Regions from separate parts of the Homo sapiens genome. Here all the other regions are linked to region 2. The links are contacts of gene promoters, found by promoter capture Hi-C in human tissues and cell types (Jung and others, 2019). All regions are on one chromosome and are shown on one strand. The core of a region is centred on a gene start or on the middle of the fragment in contact, and the rest is flanking DNA. Distances in the headings are between cores, read along the strand shown.

What was found. The method cuts DNA at HindIII sites, captures the fragments that hold promoters and counts their contacts. A contact is called where the count stands out against the background at its distance.
Region 1: a fragment that was not itself captured here is called in contact with the fragment with the promoter of SYT1 in region 2 in 3 of the 25 tissues and cell types used here (bladder, dorsolateral prefrontal cortex and neural progenitor cells).
Region 3: a fragment that was not itself captured here is called in contact with the fragment with the promoter of SYT1 in region 2 in 2 of the 25 tissues and cell types used here (dorsolateral prefrontal cortex and mesenchymal stem cells).
Region 4: a fragment that was not itself captured here is called in contact with the fragment with the promoter of SYT1 in region 2 in 1 of the 25 tissues and cell types used here (hippocampus).
Region 5: a contact is called between a fragment that was not itself captured here and the fragment with the promoter of SYT1 in region 2, in 1 of the 25 tissues and cell types used here (hippocampus).
Region 6: a fragment that was not itself captured here is called in contact with the fragment with the promoter of SYT1 in region 2 in 1 of the 25 tissues and cell types used here (dorsolateral prefrontal cortex).
Region 7: a fragment that was not itself captured here is called in contact with the fragment with the promoter of SYT1 in region 2 in 2 of the 25 tissues and cell types used here (H1 embryonic stem cells and dorsolateral prefrontal cortex).

Annotation. Positions count from the first base shown.
Region 1 is chr12:78,476,095-78,479,775 of GRCh38, reverse strand. No RefSeq gene overlaps it. Among named protein-coding and RNA genes, the nearest start is that of LINC02424, 120 kb to the right of the region's middle. The HindIII fragment of the contact is 4,897 bases long and covers 1-3,681 here.
Region 2 is chr12:78,863,524-78,867,309 of GRCh38, reverse strand. It overlaps SYT1 (synaptotagmin 1), which reads right to left and starts at 2,536. Exons shown (of 11, transcript NM_005639.3): 1 at 2,201-2,536. RefSeq lists a silencer at 3,693-3,752. The HindIII fragment of the contact is 3,235 bases long and covers 2,172-3,786 here.
Region 3 is chr12:78,499,836-78,503,373 of GRCh38, reverse strand. No RefSeq gene overlaps it. Among named protein-coding and RNA genes, the nearest start is that of LINC02424, 140 kb to the right of the region's middle. The HindIII fragment of the contact is 3,425 bases long and covers 1-3,082 here.
Region 4 is chr12:79,266,883-79,270,250 of GRCh38, reverse strand. The region is part of intron 4 of SYT1 (synaptotagmin 1); the gene reads right to left. Among named protein-coding and RNA genes, the nearest start is that of MIR1252, 150 kb to the left of the region's middle. The HindIII fragment of the contact is 3,828 bases long and covers 1-3,368 here.
Region 5 is chr12:79,286,511-79,290,337 of GRCh38, reverse strand. All of the region lies in intron 5 of SYT1 (synaptotagmin 1), which reads right to left. Among named protein-coding and RNA genes, the nearest start is that of MIR1252, 130 kb to the left of the region's middle. The HindIII fragment of the contact is 6,617 bases long and covers 1-3,827 here.
Region 6 is chr12:78,550,408-78,553,715 of GRCh38, reverse strand. No RefSeq gene overlaps it. Among named protein-coding and RNA genes, the nearest start is that of LINC02424, 190 kb to the right of the region's middle. The HindIII fragment of the contact is 5,459 bases long and covers 1-3,308 here.
Region 7 is chr12:79,188,639-79,192,362 of GRCh38, reverse strand. The region is part of intron 3 of SYT1 (synaptotagmin 1); the gene reads right to left. Among named protein-coding and RNA genes, the nearest start is that of MIR1252, 230 kb to the left of the region's middle. The HindIII fragment of the contact is 6,639 bases long and covers 1-3,724 here.

The DNA of each region.
Region 1 (3,681 bases), core at 950-3,449, 390 kb after region 2:
TTCTTTTACTCTGGAGATTAAAAATTCTTCTGAGGAGCAAGTAACAAACAGAAGAGTGAGCCACTCCTGAATCTACTAAACAGATGATGAGCTCATGTTGAGGTCCCAACTCTAAATTTATCAAGGGCTCCTGGTGGGACTTGAGATAAAAAAAGACAGAGCCCCTGACACACTTATTCTTCCTTGAAAGTCATGAGTGGAATGGCTTCTTTCTCTTTTTCCCACTCAAGGCATTCTCTTTTGAAGTGACCTATCCTTCTGCATTTGAAACATCTATCTTCTCCTTCCTCCGTCTCTGTTCTGGGATTCTTTGACTTTGCTCTCCCATACTCTTTAGAGGGCCTGGTAACTGGGGGTCTGGGTCCTGGTTCTCTAGATGGAAGCTTGGACCCTTTATAGTTCCTGGCCCCTGGTGGCTTTGTTTAGAAGCGTATGGATTTGGAGCCATCTGTTTGTTAGAAGGTAGATAATATGAGTTTTGTTTTTTGTTTCTGCTTTTCTTCATCTCTCCTCACCTATACCTTTTGAGCTTCTCTGAGAAGTTCATTTAGGGGATAGTCTTCCCAATTCTCTATTTTCTGTAATTTCTTTGAAATGTCTGACAAACTTCATGACAAAATGGAATTTTAACATCCCTTGCCCAAGGGGATCTTCTAAATTTAGGCCTGCATATTTCCTCATTTGCTCTTTCAGTCTGTTTAGGAATTCCAAAGGGCCTTCATCCTTTCCTTGCTGTATATCAAATGCTTTAGAGAGATTTTGAGTCTGGGGCACTGATTCCCGAATTCCTGTTATTATCATTTCCCTTAAATCTTGCATAATTTTCCCAGTGGGCCACATTGTTATTGTCCCACTGGGGGTCTTGGGCAGGGAACTTTTGGTCCGTGGTAGGAACATTTTGACCAGGAAGATGTTCACATTCCCAGACTACCATAGCAGCCCTACCGATCATACTTCTTTCCTCCCCAAAAAGAGGATACCTAAGATGGACTTTAATTCGACCCAAGTATATAACTGAGGTCCTAAAAATTGATCAATTTGATCTGCCACTCTATAAGGGTCATGTAACAGTGGTTTGAGTTCTTTTTTTAAACTTCAAACTTCTGAACCGGTGAGGAGAGCATTTATGAACACAATGGCTCCCCCTCCCTGTGGCACCTCTCTTAAGGGGAAGAAAGTTGAAATTGATACTTGGGTGGCAGGGGCAAGGGAAGTTTTGCATATCCTTTTTGTATTGCTCTGTCTCATGTTGGAGTCCTCTTAGGGACAGGTAAAGGACAGGCTCATGAGATGCTAATTCCAAAGAGTCGGGGTTGTAAGGAGGAGGGATAATGTGAGCAGTGGAAGGATCTAGAATGGGATTTATCATGGCAGCTGCTTCCTGAGGGGAAGGGTTGTGGGGTACCGAGTGGGGGAAGATGGTCTAGGGGATCCCATGCATTAGGGTCTTTAGGCATGGGGACTAGCTTGTCTGACTTCTCCTCTTGAGGTGTTAAGTTGAAATTTTCCCTTGTTTTTAAGGGAAAAAGGAGGACAGGTACCTGTTTCCAACAAAGCGCATTGTCCAGTTCTTCTTGAGAAACCAAACTTCTATCATTTAAATATTGAACTAAAAGCTGACACATTACATCCTCATTTGACCCAAACTTCGGCCAGAAAATTGAGGGTTTGAGGATGGGTCCCTGAATCCCAATAATACAGCAATACTTTATCATTTGTTGCTTTTTCTTATGTTTAGTACTTTCATTATCTTTCCAATATTTTAACATGAGAACCAGGGGACTATCAAGGGGAATATGATTTTTGTTAGCTCTATCCTTCTTACTCCCTGCCTTACTTGGGGTATTTCCTATCTTGGGTGCTGGTTAAGCTCAATCCCTCATACTAGAGATTTCTTGCCCTCCCTTCTTTAGAGGCTGGCTGAGGCATAATCCCTTGTACTAGAGATTTCTTGCCTTCCCTTCTCTAGAGGTTTAACCCCACCTGCTGCAGGTTCCTTGCATTCTTCTCCTTTTGTTTCATCTTCTCTGGCCACTTCCCCAGAGGGAATATTTCAGGTTCCTCTTAGAATTGGCAGGTCAGTATAAATCCCTGAGGGGACCCCCGAAGGGCTGCACTAAGCTGTACGAGGTGACCACGGAACTGCAGATTGGACTCACTTCACATAGCAGTAGTGCTTGTTACCATTCATGCACTTTAAACCTCCAAGATATCCCCAACCCCCAAGGAGATACTTTGTTGCCCCTGCAACGTTTCTTTCTTACCTTGGTCTGTGCACAGAATTACCTGGTTGCTGCAGTGTTGATAGACAAAACTTTTTCTCCCTGCATTGCTGAGAGCCTGGATTTATTCATCACAATGGGTAGGTCTTGATCTCCAGCCCCTGAGGCCAAAGCAATGAGGCAGTGTGACATGTCTCCTCCCAGGAGGTGACCAGAGACCCTTCCCTGGAGGAGAATGGGATCCCACACAAGCCCCCAGAACTGTTGGAAGTAGAGCTTGGAGTCACAAAGAAAATGAGCAGTTAAAGGATTTCTCATCAATGCAAAATTTACTTCTGCAGAAGAGTGCTGCTTACAAGTCTGGTCATGACGAGAGTGCACTGAACAAAGGAGGGAAGGGGGTTTTTATCCCTCCACTGGCTGAAGTTGAACCGCACAATCTAAGCTGAACTCGATTGGCTAACTTGAAAGGTGCAGGAAAGTGGTTACACTGGCAAGAAGGGCATTTTTGGTGGGAAGAGCTATTGTGACAGTAGGAGTAATTTATAGAGTGGGTAGCAGATGTGGTCTCTGTAGATAAGGACCAGTGGGAAGGTTGTTTACTGAAACTAAGACAGGCACAAAGGATAAGGAAGTTTGTCTGCCCTTGGAAGTAGAGAACAAAGAACAAGGGTGCTTAACAAGCCAAACCTTTGAAGAGGAACTTCTTTTGTATCTGACATTGTCAATAAAGGAATGGGGGGGATCATGAATGGGAGGCAAGAGGTGGAGGTGGAGGTGAAGGCAGGGAAGAGCTAGTATCAAAATTATCCACTACTTTTGGGGTTAAATCACTTTTAAATTCTTAGAGTTTCTTAAATTCTTAGAGTTTCAGAGGATGGCATGGCAGTGATTTGTCTGTAATAGACAGAGGCTTGTGCACTGAGCTGAAGCTTCTCAAGTATAAGATGACTTAGAAACCCAATAATTAGTGTGCTCTGTCAATCTCTAGGCCCATCACAGAAACAAATAAATTTAAGTAGACTGTCGACAGAAAAAATAATAAAATCCAGAAGACAACCTAGATTGATGACCTAAGAAAATCATAAATATGTGGATGCATCTAAACAAGCAATAAATGTATAATGCAATGGTAATAATAATTTGGGGGCTAAAACCAAAATTGTTCTGCTACAATTAAAAGACTGGGAAACAATAATATGTAAACTGAAAAAGTTGTTGGGTGTAAAAAAATTACTAAATTGTTCAGAAGAAGCTTAGAAATATTAATTTACTTTAGACATAGCTAAATATGCATGTTAAATGTTTATGGCCATTGATTAAAAATCAAGGTATAACTTACAAACCAGTAGAGCAACACATATATAAATATCTCAAGCATTTCAAATGAGGTACTCTAATATTAAAAAGAAAAAGCAACATATATATTGAAAGCTAGGTCTAATAATACTAAATGCAA
Region 2 (3,786 bases), core at 1,287-3,786:
TGTCACAAACCAAGCCTAAATTTTCACATATTCCTAAGACAGTGGAGAAATGAGAAAACAAAATCTTAATTTTCTCACATGAAGGCAGCTGGCTTCCTTTTTGTACATCTTTTCATGTCTAAACTTGTTAATTCAGTTGTACATACATGTGAGGTAATTAAGTGATTGTCCCTTTGTCCTTGTAACCAAAAGGTGGCACCTCTAAAAACCAGAGTTAGCTTTCAACAGAGACACTATTTTTTTTTTTTTTTCATTTAAATGTCAAAGCCCTAGAAAGAAAATCGTTTTTCGTGACTTGGTAATTCTATTTAGGGAGAGATCATTGCCTCAAATGCAAAATGGTTTGGAAAATAGTACACATTACACTGATGGCAAATGAATTCAGCTCTTCTCTAAGTTGGTGTGTAAACTTATATATTAAACGTACGTAGTGAAAAAATACTCTCTGAGATACAAAATTAGTGTGGAAGGTCAGACACAGTTAAGATAGAAGATTCTCTTTTCTTATATCAAGTGGAGTTCTAGACAAAAAAAAGTAAGACTCTGCATTTCCCCTGATAAATAAAAAGAAGTGTTTTGTATACTAACATCTGTGGATTTCTCTGTGTTCAGGTAAGACCCACTTGGAATGCTTTCCTATTACATCAAACGAGGCATTTCTCTATACCTCCTTCCATCTGACAGTACTATCGCTTAGCTGTCCCTGAAGAATAATAAGAAAAGAAAGCTTATATCCCCAATGATGGAATTAGAGACTGCTGAAGCTGCTGTAAAGGCTCTGTCCAACAAGTACCATTTACTTGACCTATTATGCAGGCAGCCAGGGGCATGTTGGTGTTTTGATATATTTTTCTTTCTTTTAACAAGACGTTACAAAAATGTTTTCCCCTTCAGGATTTTTAAAATTTAGGGTATCTTTCTAGCATTACTTTCTAAACTTAGTTCCAGTACAGGAGGATTCTTGTCCAACTGAGCCTCCATGTGCCTTCTAAAGGGAGTGCTGAAATTGTATAAACATCATGTTTACATCCATTAAATATTGTCCTATTAAAAGAAAATAAAGCCAGGCATAAGTTTGGTATCCAGACAATAAAATGCAAATAGTACAAAGGTAGAATAAAGTGAAAATTCTACACAAATGTAGCTTCCATACAAAAGTTAAACAGTTGCTTTATTTCACGAAAGGGTTAATACTGGAGAAAGTGAATATCAACATGTACACAAAGCTAACTAGAAGATTAGCTTTCTCAAAGTAGAAATCCAAGCCTCCCTATAAAATTGTTGTCCCTTGCAAATGTTTTGAAACTTTACATTTTTTGATCCCCCAACAACAGGCCATACCAAGAAACCTCAGGAAAGTAATAATCTATTTTAATTGTTTTTTTTTTTTTGTTACTCAAGAAAGCTTTCAAAGTTCAGATATTAACACTGATGTGCAATACCAAATTGTTAGCCCCACAGGACAGATGGAAACAGGAAAAGTCAGATGGTTGGCACTCAAAAGCAAAAGCAATTAAGCAGTTGAAAGTGGGTTGGATTGTCGGTTTATTTTTGTTCCATTTGAACGAATCAAGTGAGAGACATAGACTCTTGCAAGGAGGAAATCAAGTCAAACTTGACGCTTCCTCTCTCTGACAGCCCAAGCTGGACTGGTTGTCTACTCCCCTTATTCAGTTTAATTGCTTTATGTGCTCTGATTTTCGCAGAGCTTGTATTCTATCTTGTTTACGTTCCCCCCCCCCCCCATATCCCTCTCCCCAACAGAAAGAAATCTTTCTCCTTTCTTCACTCCCCCTCTTTCCTCTAAGAAAGGCAATCCTCTCCAGGAGGAGAAAGAAACGCTGTGCGTGCTTAGGGTGGGAGGAGGGCGAGAGGGGAGGTGTGGGAGAGAAAGAGAGAAAAGATTGAGATTGGGGGTGGGGGACGGAGGAGAGAGAACAAGAGAAGGAAAGAGGAAGCAAGAAGATGGGGGATGCCCAACATCAACTCCAGGCTCTAAATCACGGGCGCTGTGCAAAGTGCTTTTCCAGGAGATGCACATGTAGTCTCATATTTCTCACAATAGGCCACCCGGGGATCCCTCCCTAGGTCTCAGACTCCCACCACTAAAACCCAAGTGTATCGAGAAGAAAATCTTTGGGATGGATTCGAGCAGATAGGCACCGCCGAGGTGGCCGCGCCGCCAGTCCCGCTTCCTTACCTGGAGGGCGGACCGGGAGGTGGTGCCGGGTCTCGGTCCCCAGTGCTCTCCCCGCGTGGACCGGCGCGAGGCACACGCGTACTCTCGCTGCCTCCGCTCTTGGAGGGGCAGCCTGCAACACAAAAGGGGTGTGTGGGTGTGGGTGTGTGGGAGGTTTTCCAGGGCCACCAGCTGGTCCCACGTGGTCGCCCCCACCCTACACACACCCCTTCGGGGCGCCAAGCCCCCCTCTCGGCTGAGCACCACCCTGGGGACTTGCCCGGGGTGCAGCCTCAAGTTGCCGCTGCTAACTGCTGCTGCCGCTGCCGCTGCTGCAGGAGGAGGTGGAAAGACACTGGGGGCAGTACTCGGTCTAGAGCATCCCCACACTGCAGCTTCTCCAGGAATCCCTCCAGTGAGGAGGCGGCCGCCCATCATCTCCGAGCCCCAGCATCCTGATTGGCTCCACCTCGGGTACGCTGCGCCAAGGAGCCAATCCCCGCGCACTAATAATAGGTGGATCCGTTCAGCCAACATCGCCCATCCCAGTTCTGTTAGTGTCTCTCCATCCCCACAGCGGACAGGGACCTGGGAAGCGGGGTGGAGGCGGGTTGGGGGAGGGGGTGAAGTAAGAGGGGAACAGATCCCAAGGAGACACAATCAAGGGCGTCTGATAAAACCTCTAGGTAGACTCAGGAATGCCCCACAAGCTGTTCAGCAAGCAGTATGCACAGGAGAAAGAGAGCATAATACAAAGCTTTTTTTTTTTTTTTTTTACTCTCAATCAAAACCTACCCTGATACTGAGCATGCCCAGACTGCAACAGCGACCTAGGAGTTTCGATGTGTGTGGGTTCGCCAGCTGTGGGTTTTTGAAAAGCTGGGACCGGGGACAGGAGAGGTAGAAGTTTGTCTTTGGCCATTTAACCCGGCGGAGTTGTGAAAGCTGGGTAGGGTGGGGATGTGAAAGGGTTCCGCACAAGTGTCCTCAAACTGAGCCGCGGGGAGGTGGCCCACCTGGCTGCCGGAGGCTCATCATGCTGTTCTTCTGGGGTTCCGGGTTGGAAGCGGGGGCGGGATAAGCTGAGCTTTGCTGGAAGCCTGGGGACTTCCCGCGAAGGGTGCGGTGGAGCCGAGATGCGGGAGAAGCAGCTCCGTCCCATAGGTGGGGCCGGGAGCGCGACTCCACCCATCAGCGGCGGCTGCCAGGCCGTGGAGAGTGCACTGGGAGTTTCCATTGCAGCGACCAATAAGTTTGTACACTTGGGTCAAGTGCAACATTGTTGGAGATGCTTTTTTATTTTTTCATTTTTATTTTTTGCCACCTCCCTCCCCCATCTCTCTCGACCCCTTGCCAGAGCAGTGACGACTAAAGCATAGATTCTCTCCCTGCTTCCTCTCTTCCCAGCTGAACCGTTCTGCTCGGAAGTAAGAAGCTTTTCTCTTGTGAGGGCGGTGGTGACCTGATTGTCTCTAAGCTCTCAGGCAATTTATAGCTTGGTAATACCGAAATACCGAACAGGAAGGCTCAGCGGGTGGGGGAAGGGACCGCGCGCCAGGCTAGGGGCGGGAGCGGAGCCCAGCTGGGAGAGGGGCCCGTCCATTATC
Region 3 (3,538 bases), core at 121-2,620, 360 kb after region 2:
AGAACAAAAGAGCTGTGAAAAGCTTAAGTTTTCTTTTCCTTAATAAACTATCAGGTAAAGGAGTGGCTGATACACAGACAGGGGCAAAGTGAATAAGGGAAGCATATATTGTACAGGAAATTGACTGGGGTAACATATTATAAGGCCAGCATGTGATTAGACTGTGATTTTTCATTTGTACTTTCTGCCATTCAGATAGAATTAGCACTAAATGTGGATGGCAGAGAAGCATAGAAAAAAGAAAACCAATTCTATTTTGCCAACTTTTTATTTTTTTAATTCCAGAAACACTACTCTCACTTTTTATTATCAGGAAAACTGCCTATAGTTTATATTCTCTGTTGACTACAAACAACAGTCATGGGATCTAAGATTTCTGATGTATCTTATGGCTTTTCATGCACAAAGAAAGATTTTAATAGTTTTTTTTCCATTAAATCAATCAACAAGTGACTGTTTTACGGTCCATAATTGAAGGGTGAAACAAAAAGAAACTTAGTTGAATTATTTCAAACAGATGTGGGATTGAAAAGATCAAAGCAGTTTTAATCTTCTAGGCCACTGACCCTGTGGTGGCAGTATTTTGTTTGAATAAAGATGTATACAGAGAAAAGAGTATGGGTTTTGGAGCCAGATAGATCTGGATTCAAATTGGCCTCTGACATTTTCCTACTGTGTACTCTCAAGAAAGTTGATTAACCTCTTTGGTTTCCAATATTCTCATTTGCAGAATGGAGATATTCATTCCTGTAGTTGGTTAGAAGGTTGAATTGATGTGCGCATATAAGTCATCCAGATCAGTGATTGTCAAGTAGCTTTGGCTTCATACATACTAGTTTCCTTCACCATCTTCCAATTCTTAGGATGGGATTTGTTTCTCTTCAATAACTTAAAAACGTTTTTAGATGATAACAGCAAGGCAGAAAATCATAGTGTCATAGGAAAAATAAAAAAGACATAGTAAAATAATTCATTTTTTTCTTTCTTTTTTTTTCAGACAGAGTCTCTGCTCTGTCGCCTAGGCTGGAATGCAGTAGGGCAACCACAGCTCAATATAGCCTTGAACTCCTGGCCCAAGCCATCCTCCTGCCTCAGCATCCTGAGTACAGGCATCACCACCACATATAGCTAATTCTTAATTCCTTGTAAAGACAGGGTTTCACTATGTTGCCCAGGCTGGTTTCAAACTCCTGGCCTCAAGTGATCATCTCACCTGGTCTCCAAAAGTGGTGGGATTTCAGGACTGAGCTACTGCACCTGGCCATTAATTCATTTTCTTATATTCAGCCAAGTTTAATTGACCTCCATATATGTGTGTATATATATACACACATGTGAGGTTAATCAACTTTCTTGAGCACACACGTGTATGTGTGTGTGGAAATACAGAGGCAGAGACAGGGAGGAGGAGATGGGGGAGGAGGAGAAGGAAAATAAGTAGTTTCTATGCGTTAAATCATTAGAAAAGTAAGATCTCAAATTTTAGAACAGTATCAAAGTATAGTCATAACTAAGTACACCTATCTATCATTAGTACATCTTTTAAGAAATATAAAGTCATGGCAACTTTATATTTGACTCTATGCCTTACTGCAATAGGAGTATCTAAATAATCCAGATAATCCAACATGCCTAGACTGTCTGGTTTTCCAAGCCTTCCATAATCCTGGCTTTATTTTGCTGATGGTTCTTCATGCCCACTAATCTATAATATGTATTTTTTGCTCAAATAGTTTCACCCTCTCATAATCCTACAAATGTGCCAAAAATTTGTCTTGATTCTGTTTATTAAAACATTTCATTTTTCTAACCTGAAACATCTTCTTACCTTTTCTGTTTACCAAAATATAATCTGCTAGCAAAATCAAGCTTAATATGTGCATAAAATCATATTACATTATTTTCAACATACAGTTTCTCAAACGTTTATCCAGGGTAATTTTTTTTACTAACATAGAGAAAAATAAGAACAAATCTTTTCCAATAGTCTATCAATATAAAGATCTAAGTAATAGTCTGGTTTTTATTATTTATTATATCTGAGTTTCCAAATAAGTTTTTATCTCAGGTTTTTGGAGACAAAACTAATTTCAAATATCTGTTTGCGGTCCCCATAAACCATTAAAATATCCTAAAAACTCCATCATTACAGCACTTAAACTACCTTTCCCAGACAGTTTCTCATATCCAGTAATGGCACAAAAATAATTTATTGGAACATGGGTCCTGATTTTGGTTTTGTAACATATGGTTATACATTTATATAACACAATACAGCACTTTAAAATAGATGGAACTTGCATAATTTGCATAGGCTTGCATGCTTGCCAATATCCTCAGGCTCTTTTGTATTACCTCCTTTGTATATTAAAATTGCATTGTTTAGGAATTATACCTAGAGTTCATCTGGGATAGAACAGACCCCTACTAGTTGCTTGCTGATTAACTAGATTGATTATTGATCTGATTGGATGGAAAAACAGAATGAAGTTTCTATTAGAGCAAAGCTTCTTAAGGTCAATGATTCTATGAATATAAAATTAATAATATAAACCATTCTGAAAATGGCTGAAAATATCCAGCTAAAGTAACATAGAAGAAAATAAAACATCAATTTCTGATTCCATGTTTTTCTGAAATTTATGAATTTTTGATCATCTTCTATAAACAATGAAAACTACTAATTTGTGCAAACTCAGAACTTTCTCCCCTCTGCACTAAGAAGTGATCACTTCCGTGCTCTCCAGGCCTCACACCAAATTGATAATACACTATGCTTGCAGCAAAAAAATGGTTCTCCTGCTTTCAGGGTTACATCAGAAATCTTTCTTTCTCACTTCAAAAATAGTAAAAACATAGCCTAGAAAATTGCTTTGGAGGTGAAATAGCAAGACCTTTGTTTATGAGAAAAAGACCAAGTGTGTCATTCTCTTGCTCTGCCCTGGGCCAAACATGTTTATGTGCTGAAAGGGAAGAATCCTCTTCTTCTTACCTAAAAATGTATAGCTTTGTACATGTGCCCTATTTAATATCCCCTTGGGTTAGAGCTGCTCTACATGCTCAATTTGACTGTTTTCACTCAACTGCTTCCGATTATTTATATATTTTTTAAAAGCCAAGGCAGTTTGTGCATAATGTTAAAGTCTAATGGAACATTCATGTTTTATATTATATAAATTTGCTTATAGTTTTTTCTACATCAATGGTATCTCTCTCCTAATAATTCCCCAAATTTCTAAGAAATCATTTTTAAAAGTAAAATATTTGTTTGAACTGAGACTAGGATCTCAAAGACAAGATGTATGAAATATCTTAAGAAAGCAGTTTGGAAAATTTCTTGTCAAGGATGATTCCATGACCTTTTCTATTTAAAATCTATAGGAGGGCTTGTCATTTATCTGAATTAGGAAAATGATTACTTGAATGTAGAAAAAAAAGAAATGTTGCTTGTTAAAATTCATGATTCATATAAATAATAAATTTATATTGTTTTCTTGTAGGGTTTAGTAAGAGCCCTATGATTATACTGGGATAGACA
Region 4 (3,368 bases), core at 633-3,132, 400 kb before region 2:
TAATCCATCATCTTTCTAGATCATTATAAGTAGATGCAAGGTGCAGAATATAATATGGAAATAATTATTCTGCTGTTAACTAGCACAAAAAATCTTTTTCAAAGTCTTGCTTTTGGGGCTGTTTATGAATAATTTTCAAAAACACACAAGGATAATCATTTTTCAAAAATCAGCAAAAATAAAAACAAGCTTTTTCTAAATTATACAATACAAATGGAAAAAAGTTCTGGAAATATGTGCATTAATACACTCATTAGCCACCTCTGGAGACAGAACATTAAATGCATATTTGAAAAAGTATGTAAAGTCTCATAGAACATAATTTAAGATTAAATCAATCAGAGGTCCAAATGAAGAATTTCTCATTATAGCCTAAAATGGCTTCAAAGACTACCAATTCTTGGCCCCAGGGTACTGAAGTATCTTTTTTCCTTTAGAATGATAGTTCTAAACCTTTTTTGAATCATATGTCCAGTTTAAAATATGATAAAAGTTGTGGACTCTTCATGGGAAACTGCATATATCCGTGTGTGCATTGTGTGTGTGTGTGTGTGTACTTTTTCATACAGTTGGTAATATGTGGTACCCGAGTGCAGATTATTGTTCTCCAGGTCTGGAAGACAACTGGACTCCAAATTAAAAACCTGTTTCTCAGAGCATCAAGGCAAGACACACCAAGGCCAAAGGAAAAACGTATTCCTGCATCAGATCATTTAACCGTTCATTTCTTTCCTACTGACAATCTGCTGTGTGTTTAAACTATACAGGGGTGGAGTGAGAGAACTTATGCAGAGGTGGAGTGAGAGAACAGAGAACACAGAAAGGATGGTTCCCTTTCCCTAGGAGCTTAGAAAGACTAACTCCCAGAAAATAAAACTAGAGATAGGAGGCAATACAGTTAAGCACAAAATTCAGTGGAGCAGAAAGGATTTATAGGTAGCTGGTTAGAGAAGGGCAAGATATATATATAAAGCTCATGGAGAGGGACTTTATTTACAATAAAAAAATTCTCTGTTTCACAGTTTTCTACCTGTAAATTAAGAGAACACTACCTGCCTCACAGGATTGCTGTAAGGATTAAGCGAACAAATGTATGAAAACATTGAGCCCAGAATCTGGCATTCAATAAATTTATTGATATTCAATAAAAAAAAAAAAAAGAGAAGGGCAAGATAAAAGGGGCCTGGAATTCAAAAACGACTTCATGGAGGAGCTACGTTCTGAGGTATGCTCCAAAGCCCTTCTTGCTCCACGGTGAAAATAGTATTTGGAAGACACCGTTTCTTTTCCTACCTGCCTCTCTTTCATCCTTTCTCTTTCCTTCCTTTCTTTCCTTTGGTTTTCAGACTCCTTTTAATCTAATTTGTCAGCCAGTGATTACTCTGTTAAACAGAGCTTTCAATATGATACAGACTTATCAAAATCTGCATTAGATTTTTCTATCATAGTAGATGAAAAGATGTTTCCTTGTAGTAAATTCATGTAGCCTTCTCCAAATAGCCTTCAGAATTGTCTCCTTAAGAATACATGTCACATTCTCCTCCCACATAGCTCTATTTCTCTTTTCAATTTGTGTTCCTGACAAAGAGGAAACTGGAATATATGTCTGTGCAAAAATACTGTAAAAATGCTCCAAGCCATTGACTTGGGTCAGTTACCTGTGACTTTTTAGGGCAGATAAATTGTGGTTAACAGTAATCTAGAAGAGAGACTCATTCATTCATTCATTCACTCATTCATTCACTCATCCATTTGAACAAGTTTGAAATAATTTATTAGTTTACAGTCTGCTTGGGCAGATTTGACTAACATATATGAAATACTGTGAAAAATACCACATATCATCTTAATTCCAAATTAAAGGGTTAATGATTAATCCATGGTTAATGGATTTTGATTCTGCTATATAGTCACGGCAAACTTATTTTACATGTCAAATGAATACAATTTTTTCGATGATTTTTTAAAAATCCTTAACATTTAATAGAATCGTAAATCTGCCTCTCTTTGCCCATAAACTCAACTGTCAATACATCAAAACTTTAGTAAAGTATATCATATTGTTTTGATATACACAAAGTCACAATCTATGCTTCGATAAATTTTTACCAGATCCTCTACCCTTTGATCTGATTTCTGTACTTCCTGTGCTGTTGAACAAATTCACAGTCCCTACTGAATAACTTATTAAGGTTACTGATGTTTCTCACTGCAGGCAATGATTAGTCTTGATGATGGAAGTTAGTTGAATGAAGGACGTTTTATCTGCACATGTATTGGTCAAATAATTAATTTTATAAAATGCCTATAATAATATTAGTCTGCTTTAAATGATAAGGCAAAGCCATCTATATCTTCACAGTATTGGAATGTCTGACATTTGACATGCAAAATGATGGGTCTTCAGGCAGAGATAAACCCCAGCACAACTTTCAGAGGATTTAGATAAGCCTCCACAGTCAGCCCAGGAGCTTGCTGTCTGCAGGCTCCAGGGAGAAGTGCGCTGGTAAACGTAAAGGATGCCAGGTAAGTTGGCAGAGGTGAAGGCAATTCACAGGCTAATCATCTGAAGCCTTTGGAAGTTTGTAACAGTTTTCATTCATGCTGTGGACAACACAATATTGTGGTTAAAGGGAAATCCATTCATCCTATGAAATTTTCAGTATGTCTTTCTTGAGTTCTGATTTCTAAGTTCAAAACTAAAAACACATAACCTCTTAGTCTTTTTTTTCTTTTGTCAAGGAAGCTAACTTTCTTTTCAACTTTTACGTTAGAAGACTTCACAATAGGCAGCTCTTGGATTCTGACCCAATTTGTATTTGGCTTTATTTTGACACTTTCAATTTGGTTAACAATTTTGTTAACCTGTTTTCCAACTTTGGCAAAGATGCCTGAGAAAAAGAAATTCATTCCAAGAATTGAACATGGCCCCTGTTGATAGCTTCTGAATAATTCAATATCTTAATATCTACTTTGTTTCTTTTCTAAGCAATTTAATGTTATTGAGATTAAATTCAATTATGATAAAAGATTATCAGCTAAAGGGGCAGATATATTCCCTGATATTTTATAATTTAAGGCCAACAGCTATAAGCAATAAGTAAACAAAAATGCCTTATTACTTGTTTTTTGGAAGGATTTTTTTTCCTCCACTACCTTTCTTTTAAGATTCTAGAAACAAGTGAGGACGTTTTTAGAATTCTCTGTAACTTGGAAAGATTTGATTGCATTGACAGCAGAATTGCATGGCTGCTATGCTTGGGTGGAGAAGAACAGGGCGTTTGAGTCTTTACAGTCATGAAAGGGAAGATTCAGGCTCATTAATTTCATTACTATACAAAGTGACAGGTAGGCAACAGTGAAAACAA
Region 5 (3,827 bases), core at 676-3,175, 420 kb before region 2:
TTACAAGATTTTCTAATTTGGCTTCACCCGGTTAACTCCAATTTGATTCTAAAAAACTGAGACTCAGCTGTATCACAGTTTAATAGAACTCATTCAGGTGGGAAGGTCATATAAACAGAATTGAGCTGTTGTCAGTGATGCCTCCCCTTTGTTTGCTGGAAATTTCTTAGGAGCCTTCAGTGAGTTTTGAAAATTGAAAATTGCCATCATGATATACATCGGTGTAGAAACATTATCAAATTTGGTTAGCTACAAACCACTTAATTTGGAAAGTTTAATCTATGCTTCATTGTTTCTTTGAATGTTAAAATGTTGACTTACTAATAGCTAAAGGCAGGAAACAACATGAAAATATTTTAAAATTTATTTTAATTGTTTAATTTGTGAACAAGGGGCTTGGTCACTAAAGGTAACGTGATAGTAAAGTGACAAAAAAAAAAAAAAAAACTACTGAGTTTAATTAGAGAACTTCAGGCAGTGGAATCCCTTTGCCCTTTCAAAACCCTAGCTGTGTATAAGTCTTTAACACTGTCTTAGGTGTGCTCAGGAAATTGCAGCTTCGGTAATTTGCCTCCCTATAAGATTTTGGTTTTTAAAAAATAATAACAAGCTATTTAACATCTACTTCTGTTTGATAAATCTGCATGTTGCTCTATTATTATAATGAAAAATTCATTGATTAAAATACCTTTTTCAAAAGTCTCTTTCAGAACTGAATTTATGTATCATGTTTCAGCCCAATGCAATTTGAAATAGCTGATATATTAAATCTCCTTCTCCCTAAGTGGTTTTTACCTGAATAGAAGGCAGGACCATCTCTGCAATTATTCTGCATGAAATAGGGCTAAATTTTTGATAATTTCTCAGTGCTACTGTTCATCACTGAAGTGATTAAGTCTATTCCTGTCCCAAAGGCTGAGCTTAAGCAAGACATTTTCTGTACCATCATATTAAATTCAGACCTATTAAATCAGTAGCTATTATAATATCTCAAGAGCACTATTTTCCTCTTCATAGAACAAAATTCGGAAGAAAAAGCTTGTAAACCTAGCAGTACTGAGGTTTGATAAATTGCAGTAGAAAAAGCTGGGTTGGGAACATCAGACCTTATCTTAAATTTCAAAGATTAAGTGCGCATGCATATGGTTTGCTTTGACATTCAACAGGTGCTTTGTTTGCAACCATCAAAAGGAGCATTTGTTCATTCTCAGTTACATTGTTCAGATTTGGATTTAATAAGGCGCACTAGAAAAGTAGCACAAGGGACTGAATTTCTTTTTGTGTCCATCAACTTAAAACTTGAGCTTTCTAATACTGTTATATTTAATCTGTTAGCGTGTTTAAAATGAGAACACCTTATCTTTAAAAAAATCAATTTAGTTCAGCCTCTTGATGTGTGTCAGAATGATATACCCTCAGCTGTGGAGCCCCAGGTGCCAGGCCACTAAATGTATCTGAGCGTTGACTAGGGATGTCTAAGTAGCAGAGGAAACCTACCGCAAGGGACAGTCCAGAACAGTCATGAGACACAACACAGATAAGGACATAGAAGGAAGAAATAAAAATTAAAATATCCACACACATTAGTGAAAACCGTGGAGAAATGACCTTTCCAGACCTATGACTTTACATGTGAATATTTTCCCTCTGTCTGGTTAGTGTTCTCCAATTTTAACACATACAAAAGAACACATAAATATATATCTTATGCAACATAAATGTCTATACTTTTTGTAGTCATTGCAGAATATTTAAAAAAATCTTCCTTGGTTGCAAAACCTTACTATAGAGACATGTAGCCATGAATATTGAAATTGGAATTTCTGTGAATTTGATATGAATTAAAATGGTAAAAATGTATTGATTGTCCTAGAGCCTTTATATCTTGTATATAGAGCCTATATATAGATATTTCTTAAGATTAAGAAATTATATCTAAAATGCCTCTCACATCTGTCTTGTTTTTAAACGAGAAGGGCATAAGCCATCTTTATTTTCTTCCCCATGTTCACTTCAACATTCTGCTGAAGATATTTTGAAAATATAATTATTTAATAATAATTTTAATTTGTATTCATGCTGTTTTGAATTTTGGGTGATCTGGCGATCATCATGTGATGAAACATCCTCTTAAAATCTGCACATTCTATTTTGCTTTTTTAGCCTTCCTCTTCATAAAATGATGGAACCCATGATTAGCTACTTTTGTCTGCTTCAAAAAGTAGCATAAGCTATGGTTATATAAACGTTTATCCCTGGAGTGTATATTCATCTGTCCAAATTGTACCTTATTCTGTGAATTTAATTGTTCATAACTTACAAAAATTGAGACCTAGCTAATGTCCTATGTAGACAAAGTGCTCTACCTAAAATAACTGAAAACATCTTTTTGAGTGGTTGAAATTCTAAATAATTTGCAATAACAGATTAGTATAAACTATCACTGACTTCTTAATATTTCTTTGTTTGAATCATTTTCTCTGTCTCTCCCCATCCAAAAAATAGATCATCAATGAAAAATTAACCCCCATTAATTCTCTATATTTGAGATCTTGGTCATTTATCCAGGTCATAACAGGGGTAATAAACACCACCACTATGCTGTAAATTATAATTTTACATCATACAGAACAAATCCCACAAATATTATAGATTTATTGTCCTAGGAAGAAATGCTATCGTTATCACTTAACATTATTCAGTAATTTTAATTAGTTCTAGAACACAGGGAAACCACATTCAAATTTTATGATAATTATGAAAAAGATAGTGATCTATTGTCAAATTATTGTTTTCACAATATTGATAAAATTAACATACATATTATTCAGTCCATGTCCATCTAGGAGGTTATTTCCACACTTAATCTCCCAATAAGTTGTTTAAAGAAATCTTTATCAAGTCCTGCTTGCTATGAAAAGTGTGGAAATAAAGTAAGACATGCCTGGAAATTTTAGTTTCTACTTAAATTAACTGAAGAGAAAAATCTTTATTAGACACCTGTAGTTGAACGTTTATGCATTGGCTTTTGTGACTGTGATTAGAAATTGCCAGAAAAATCAAACCCTTGCTACTCCGAGCTCAGGCCAAAACTCTCTGAGTATGAGTACAGGCATTTCATCCATTCCATAGCTCCAAAACAGAACAAAAATGCAGGGAGTAAAACATGAGCCTTTGTGAAATTATTATCAATAGATACTATAGTGTCTTTGAGGAAAAAGAGTTTAAAACTGAAGCTGGGAAGGGGAGTTAATGTCCCTGAATGTGTAATGAACTAGGAAACAACGCAAATGTACTTAAAATGCCTGTTGTAACACCTGATTAAATTGTTCTTAAGGAGATTCAGGTTTAAGAGTTTGATTAATAGTAATTAATAGTATAAGAGGAATTTATAAAACTGCTTATATATTTTGCTATTTGGGAATAAATAAAACTTTTGTATTTGATGAAAACATTGATAATTGAAAATGTTAATTCTATAAAAAATCTGTACATTTACATTTTAATTTTAAAATATGAATTAAATATTCTTTAGAGATATTCAACATGGATATTATTTCAAAAATGAAGAGGCATTTAATAATTATCATTAATAATAGTAAACATTATCTTGAACCAAGTTGTCCAATTAATTTAGCCAAAAACAGATAGCAACATAAAGAACATCCAAATAGCTTTTTTGGGCTTGGAAAGATAACCCAGCCAGATGGATTTTATAACCAGTGTTATGGTTGTAATTGTCCTTATTAAATTGAAATGAGAATTTTGTCTTATAAGAAATAAGAAAGAAAACTTTTTCATAAGGCAAAAATTCTATCCTGTCGTGT
Region 6 (3,308 bases), core at 761-3,260, 310 kb after region 2:
CTCAGTTTAACATGTGAGACAGGCAAACTTCCAGTGTTTTGATAAAATGCACGTCAGACATGCCAAATGTAAAATTAGACGCCAAAGGGATGAACTGTGGTTCTGGGATGTTTTCTTTTCGTCTCCTTGGGTGAGTGTGATGGGTTCCTTGTGTCCGTTTCATGAGCTTTGAGGGTTCCTTGGAAGCAGGCACCATGTTTTCACATCTTATACAACTTTATATGATTCTCCCTACTTTGTAGTCAGATCTAGTATAGTCCTGACCTGGTAAAGAGCTCCCATTTGATAAAATCCATGTTTTTAAACTAATAGTAATAAAAGTAAGCATTTTGTTTTAAAATTTGTGTAAAATTTCCCTGGAAAGGGAAATTTACTGTAAAAAGCATGACAACTTAAAAACTGAGCTTAGCACACTAACTAAACTACTGGAGAGTAAAAAGGAAGAGAGAGGGAAATAATAAAATCCAATAAAGCCTACTACAGTGTACTCCTGTGGCTATTTTGCAGAGGATAGAATTCAAAGCAACGGTAACTTAAATTTGAGGACCCTCTTCTCAGAGTCTACCTTGAGCAGAGTTGACGAGTGGGCAATTTGGCTTTTGATTTATCTTAAAAGTCTACAGCTGTTTCTATCACCTTGAAACTCTTTTTCTCAACTGGAGGTTACTGGAGTCTTGTTTCCATATGCCTTCCTAGAACTTCCATTTCTAACAATTTTTCATTATCTCTAACTTGCCTCTCTTACTCCCGCAGCTATGTTTCTGTCTCTATGCTAATTTTAGCAGATTATGATATTATAAAACAATTGTATCTGTCAACTGAAGTAAAAACATCTGTTAGAAACACAATTCGGATACTGAATTTTAGGAAATACAATATACATAAGATACATCTTTGTTTTTCGGTATCTCACTGTCAAGTATAGACAAATTATAATAGATGGTCTGATAAATGCATTAAAAGACTAAAGGAGAACCTTGTGAGAGCCCTGAGGAAGGCAGCTCCCCATTCTGGGAGATTTAGGAAAGGGTCCACAGAGGAAGTAATCTTATGCTGAGTTTTAAAAGGTGAGTACATTTGTCAGATAAATGCTGTAGTAGGCAGGAAGGGAGAGAAAATGTGCATTCCAAGCAGAGAATTGTACTTTCAAAGGCCTAGAGCTATGAAAGGGTACTAAAAGATTTAGAAGATGCTAGAAAATAAATATGACTAAAAAATAGAAAAATGAATCCCATCATTTACTTTCTTACCAACCCACAATACTTTTGTTTTAAAAGCTTCTGAACCAAATAAGGGTTGCTATAATGACAGAACATCTGACTACATGAGAGCGTACAGTGGGGGAAAGTTTGGACTATATGAATGTGGAATATTTTTGGTCAAGGGGAACCTACAACATGAGTATCCTTAAACCTGTCTCCCAGATCATCTTCCTCAATCATCCCTCACTGTCAATGTGGAACTTATTACCACCATCAATCTATTCTAGTGTCACAGTTGACCTTATAACTGGTTGAACTCATGTCCGTCTCTTACATATATACTCTCATTTACCACTGTGCTTAGTATATGAGCAAAAAAGTAATGTATTTTCCTCACCCATCTCAAGGTCCATGACTGATATTCCTAACAGATTTAAGAGAAGAAACAGATTTGTAAGAGAAAAGCACAATACATTTATGTAACAAAGTTTCACATGAAATAGAACCCTTCAGAAATGAAGACACAAAGACCCAAGGAATACTGTATATTTTTATGTTGGATCGACAAAACACATGGATATTTGCAGAGAAATTTGACTGGACAAAAAGAACATGATGGTAATAAACTGGGGGAAACCCTGCAAAACCTGTTTGTTCAGATCCTTCTTAGCCTCTCTTTTTTAGGCTATGGTTTCGTAGAGTCATCCCTTCCCCTGAGGTATAGGACAGGACACTTGTCACACAAGGGTCATATGAACTACTTTCAGGGGAGGTAGGTCAAAGAGTGACCTTTCTAGGTTTTATGGCTTGCGTTGGAGGATAGGAGTTCTGTGACCTGCCTTGGGGAAGAGAAATTCTTATTTCTGTGATTCATGTTGGAGGATAAAGGAGTGTGCAAGAAAAAGTACTATGAGAAGGTCAGAGACTGTCTCTTCTGAGGCCCTCCTGATTCCCTTCAGTTTACAGTACTCAGCATGTCAATGAGCCATACTTTGGGGCATCATTTTCTGAGGCCCTACACTATTACAAGTTCATAATTATATATGAAATTGAAAATAGATAGATCTCATTGAATTAAACTCTAAGCAATAATAATGAAAATATGTGTTGACATTTAACATAACCCTTAGGCTTTCTATTTATTCTTCTTTTCAATACCCAGTGAGGTGGGTATTGTTTTCATTGAATATTTGAGTAAAGTGAGATGCAGGAAAATATTCATGTTGTTTCTTCTAAAATATTTAATCACGCTAAAACACACTATCATTGAAATTGTTTACTCGACATTTTGATGTCAAATTATTTGTAAAAAATGTTCTTTTTCAAATGTGTGACACAACTTTGTGCATTTGTGTTTTACAATGAAAATTGTACTAAACAGTTCCTGCAAAGAAGAGGAAAAATGCAAAATTTTTGAAACGATGATCATTCATTACAAATTCTTCTGAGTTTGTTCCAGGAACTGTGAACCATCTGTACCATGTCAACAGCTCAGGTTGTGTTTGCAGCCACGCAGCAGAATGCGAAGTACCAAAATATGCAATTAGTTGTGACCTGTGTAAATAATTTATTTATGTCAGGGAAGCAGAAATTTCAGGACTGAGCCTCCTTTAAGAGTCATCCAAAAAACTGTAGGTTTTTCTCTCTTTTGTGAGGTATATTTCTATAGCATTCTCTTTGCTCTACAGGTAATGCTATCAGTGTATTACAGTTTCATCAAGGAAATTGTCTGCATAAACATTTTGATTATTTTAGGTTAAGACTAATGTAGATTATCACAGAAAAGAGATTAACAGGCATATTAATAGGTTACAGATCTATCAATATTTTTTAAGCTATGAGGGAAACCAAACTTTTTAATCCTAAGTGCGTCTACTTAAGTTTATTTGTTATATTAATTGTAATAATGCCTGTCTATTTGTTGAAAGAATACCTTTCACAGAATAAATGTAGTTTTGCTTCTATCAGGTCATATTTTGTTAAACTTTTGATTTATTGTCTTATACGTCTTTATTTAAAATAGCCTATAATTCTATAATATATTTGTTTCCTCAATATCTGAATGGATGAGACATAGCTTTGCTTTCAACGTAGTTTTATGTATGG
Region 7 (3,724 bases), core at 729-3,228, 330 kb before region 2:
CAGGCAACAAATAAACTAGACTGTCTTAATGATATCAACTGGTAATTCTATCAAAGGAGAATCAAACAATGATTTTCCTACTCTGCATCCTTTTATTTTTAACTCCTTAGGAATAGATTTTGGTTCCTTTCATCCTATGTGATCTCTTTTCACTAAAACACACACTCCTGTTCCTTCTCACTCCTAGTCCTTGCTAGGTATTTCTGACATTCTTAGACCTTCAATCTCTTTCCTTTTTACTTGCACGCTTGTCTTCATTTCAGGTTCTTGCCAAAGCATCCCCCTAATGTTTTAACACAAGAATAATGCTAATGATACACATCTAAAGTTAAGGGGAAGTTATAGGGGTGGATTGATATTAAAAGTACCATTGTTTTCCCCTCAGGTCAGCTCCTAATGTCACCACTTAAAGGAACCTTTTTTATTTTTTTCAGGTAGAAGCAACATTTTTCTTCTGCACGGTTATGGCTACTGATCTCTGTACCTTGCTCATGGCCGTCACCATTTTGTGTCTTAAGTTGTGGTTATTCAGGTATATGTCCCATATTCCATACTAGACCAGCAAGTCCTCAGAGGTTACATGAGGATTAAAGGAGATGTTATGTATGTGTGAAGTCCCTGAAGCATAGCAATGTCCACTACAAGTTTTTGACAATAAAAAAGAAACAACTAACCATGCATTTTTGAAGTCTAGAAATGTCTTAAAATTCTTAAAATATCAACAAATGTCTCTACCTAGTCATCCTGGCATAATGAAACCCACATATCCTCATGTGTATAAGTGTAAGAGGAAGTAGAAGAAAAGAGAAAATGTTAATTGCATAGCAACTAAAAACAGGATGTCATAGTGTAATTATAAATATTTCTATTAGCAGGAATCATTATTATAAGGCTTTGCCTATTTTTATTCCCAAGGCTCTTCATGTACTTGGATCTGCTACTTCACTAAAAAAATTTCATGTGAATGTCTTTGAACAGCAAAATAGAGTTTTTACACATGTTCTTGGTAAGTTAAACTTAATGAGGAAAGAACCCTACTGTTGATGTACACTTAGAGATCAGGAATATCTATTCTATCCCCATATCTATGTTTCATCAAGACATTCCTTATTTTTATAATTGGTATGTAGTTACGTTGGTATAGTGTTTTTCTTGAATGAACCTGTGACCAATTTGAATTTAGGAATAATAACATCTGCAAAAATAAACAAATAATAAGATACATGAGAAATGGAGCAAAGAGTTTATACATATATATATATTTATATTTATGTTTTTTTCAGTACAAATTACTAGCCAGTAATATATGTATTATACAAGCATCTAAACCTCTAATCCTCTCTGCTCCAAGACTCACATTTTAATTATCTCATTGGTAAGTGAGAGGTAGAAATTTCTGTGCATAATTAGTTCAAGAAACAGGAACCTTGTTTTGTGAGTAGCTGCTCTCATTATTGGGGACATGGACACATCTTTGTAGATACAAAACATGTAATATATTACTCTATCAAAAGAATGATTGGGGGACACAAAGTTCTGAAAAAAAGAGGGGCAACTAGAAGTAAAATGATCAAATGCTATAAAAATTAGCCTTGCTAACAGAACTAATGAAAAGCTTTTTAACTCCATCAATCCATGATATTAGTGAATATTGACTGTAAGTGAATGAATACAAACTGCTTCTCAAATGAAGGGCATATAGTCTAAAATAGCTGAAAGTCATTTCTCTGAAAGGAGATCATTAATCTGGAGAATGAAACACTGATGTTTCTTCCTGGCGCCGGTGCTGTGGAGTACTGCACTAGGATGGTAACATGGAGATTGCAATGTATCGATTTCAAAAGTCATACTTTTCGCCAGCTATGGAAAGCAATGGGGTCAGAGCTCTGGCTTCTTACATTTGAAATGAAAATGTATGTGTGTGTGTGGGTGTTTTGATGTCAATTATTTTATGGTGCTCTTATAGGCCTTTTAGCACTAATTTTATCTAGTTTTATGTGAATTCCAGGCCAAATCTCAATAAGTTGCTGAGCTTTCTGAGAAAGTTGATTCTTCACAGGTGATTTTGACAGGAAAGAAGGTAGGGGAGTAACAAGCTGTGGTTCAAAAACTCTCTTTGACTTTATGGATTTGCATGCTTGAAAAATATATATGCATCATGTTCTAAAATTCTCTGGCAAGTTCGGAAAAGAAGAAATATAAATCAGATATTAATTGTAAAAATGATTCAAGAAACATGGACAGGTTGATTTTCTTCAGGATGTAGTGCTGCAGTTAATTATGCATTAGTCATCTAGACTGAAGGCAGAGGTCTTCCACCAGAGTGGAAGGCAAAATACAGTCCAGTGATTAAAAGAGTGAACTCTGGGGGAAAACACGCTCCCCTTTATATGCCACTTCCAGCACTTTTTCACTTGTGTGACTGTGTGCTTATTTAAGTTATTTATATTTATTTTTTTGAGACACAGTCTTGTTCTGTCACCCAGGCTGGAGTGCAGTGGCACGATCTCAGCTCACTGCAACCTCCGCCTCCTGGGTTCAAGTGATTCTCCTTCCTCAGCCTCCAGAGTAACTGGGTCTACAGGAATGAACCACCATGTCTGGCTAATTTTTGTATTTTTAGTAGAGACGAGGTTTTGTCATGTTAGCCAGGCTAGTCTCAAACTCTTGACCTCAGGTGATCTGCCTGCCTTGGCTTCCCAAAGTGCTGGGATTACAGGTGTGAGTCACCATGCTTTTCCTAGGTTAATTTTTTCATGGGTAAACCAGGGATAATTATATCTTCTATACTGTGTTACTGAGAGGAATAATTGAAATATACAAATCAAGAACTTAGTGTTTCTCATATAATAAACACTTAATAAAATGTCAGCTATTATACAAATATTTGGGAATTGTTCACATTTTTCAGTTATTTTAATTGTTTTACATAGCTATAATGACTTGAACATACCTCTGAATCAAACAATAGCTAAAAGTTATTGAAAGTCAACTAGGCCAACATCATTTGATAGAATTCCTTCTATAGTAGATACTGCAATGATCTCCATGTTACAGTAAGGAAATTAAAGTGTAGACAGACTAAATAGTTTGTACAAGACCACAGAGCTAGTAAAGTGATAGAATCTGAATTCAAACCCAAGAAGCTTATTGCAGAACTCTTTTTTAAGAAATAGCTTGAGCCTCCTAATTTTAGAGGAGGCAAATAACATTCAGAAAGGGATGGTTGCTTCCAAAAGTCAGAAAGCTAGATAGTGGTCTAGTCATCTTTTTACTCAGTTACAGTTTACTCCATTAGCTGTGCTAAAAATTAGAACATTAAAGTTGATGCAACCATCATAGAAGTTAGAAGCCTGACTGAGAAAGAGCTACTTTCAGAGCTTGAGCATCAAGATAAAAAAAAATAGGTTAGTGATTTGATACTCAGATCTTTGGTTTTTATAAGAATAATAAAGTGGGACTCTGTATTCTTCTATGCATTTTCAAGGACTTGAAAAATTTCCAGTTACATCTCCTAGACAACTACTCCACATTCATTGGATTTTTACTTGAAAGTCAGCCATTAGTGATTAATTCATTTGTGTTAACTATTTTCTCTCCTTACTCTTTGTGGGGGGAAAAAAGCAAATTATTTTTTGGAGTGATGCTACAAAATATTAAGACTTTTCCCTCAAGATAGAAAAAAAGAGTATTAGCTAGAAAGCCACATTGGCATTGAATAGAT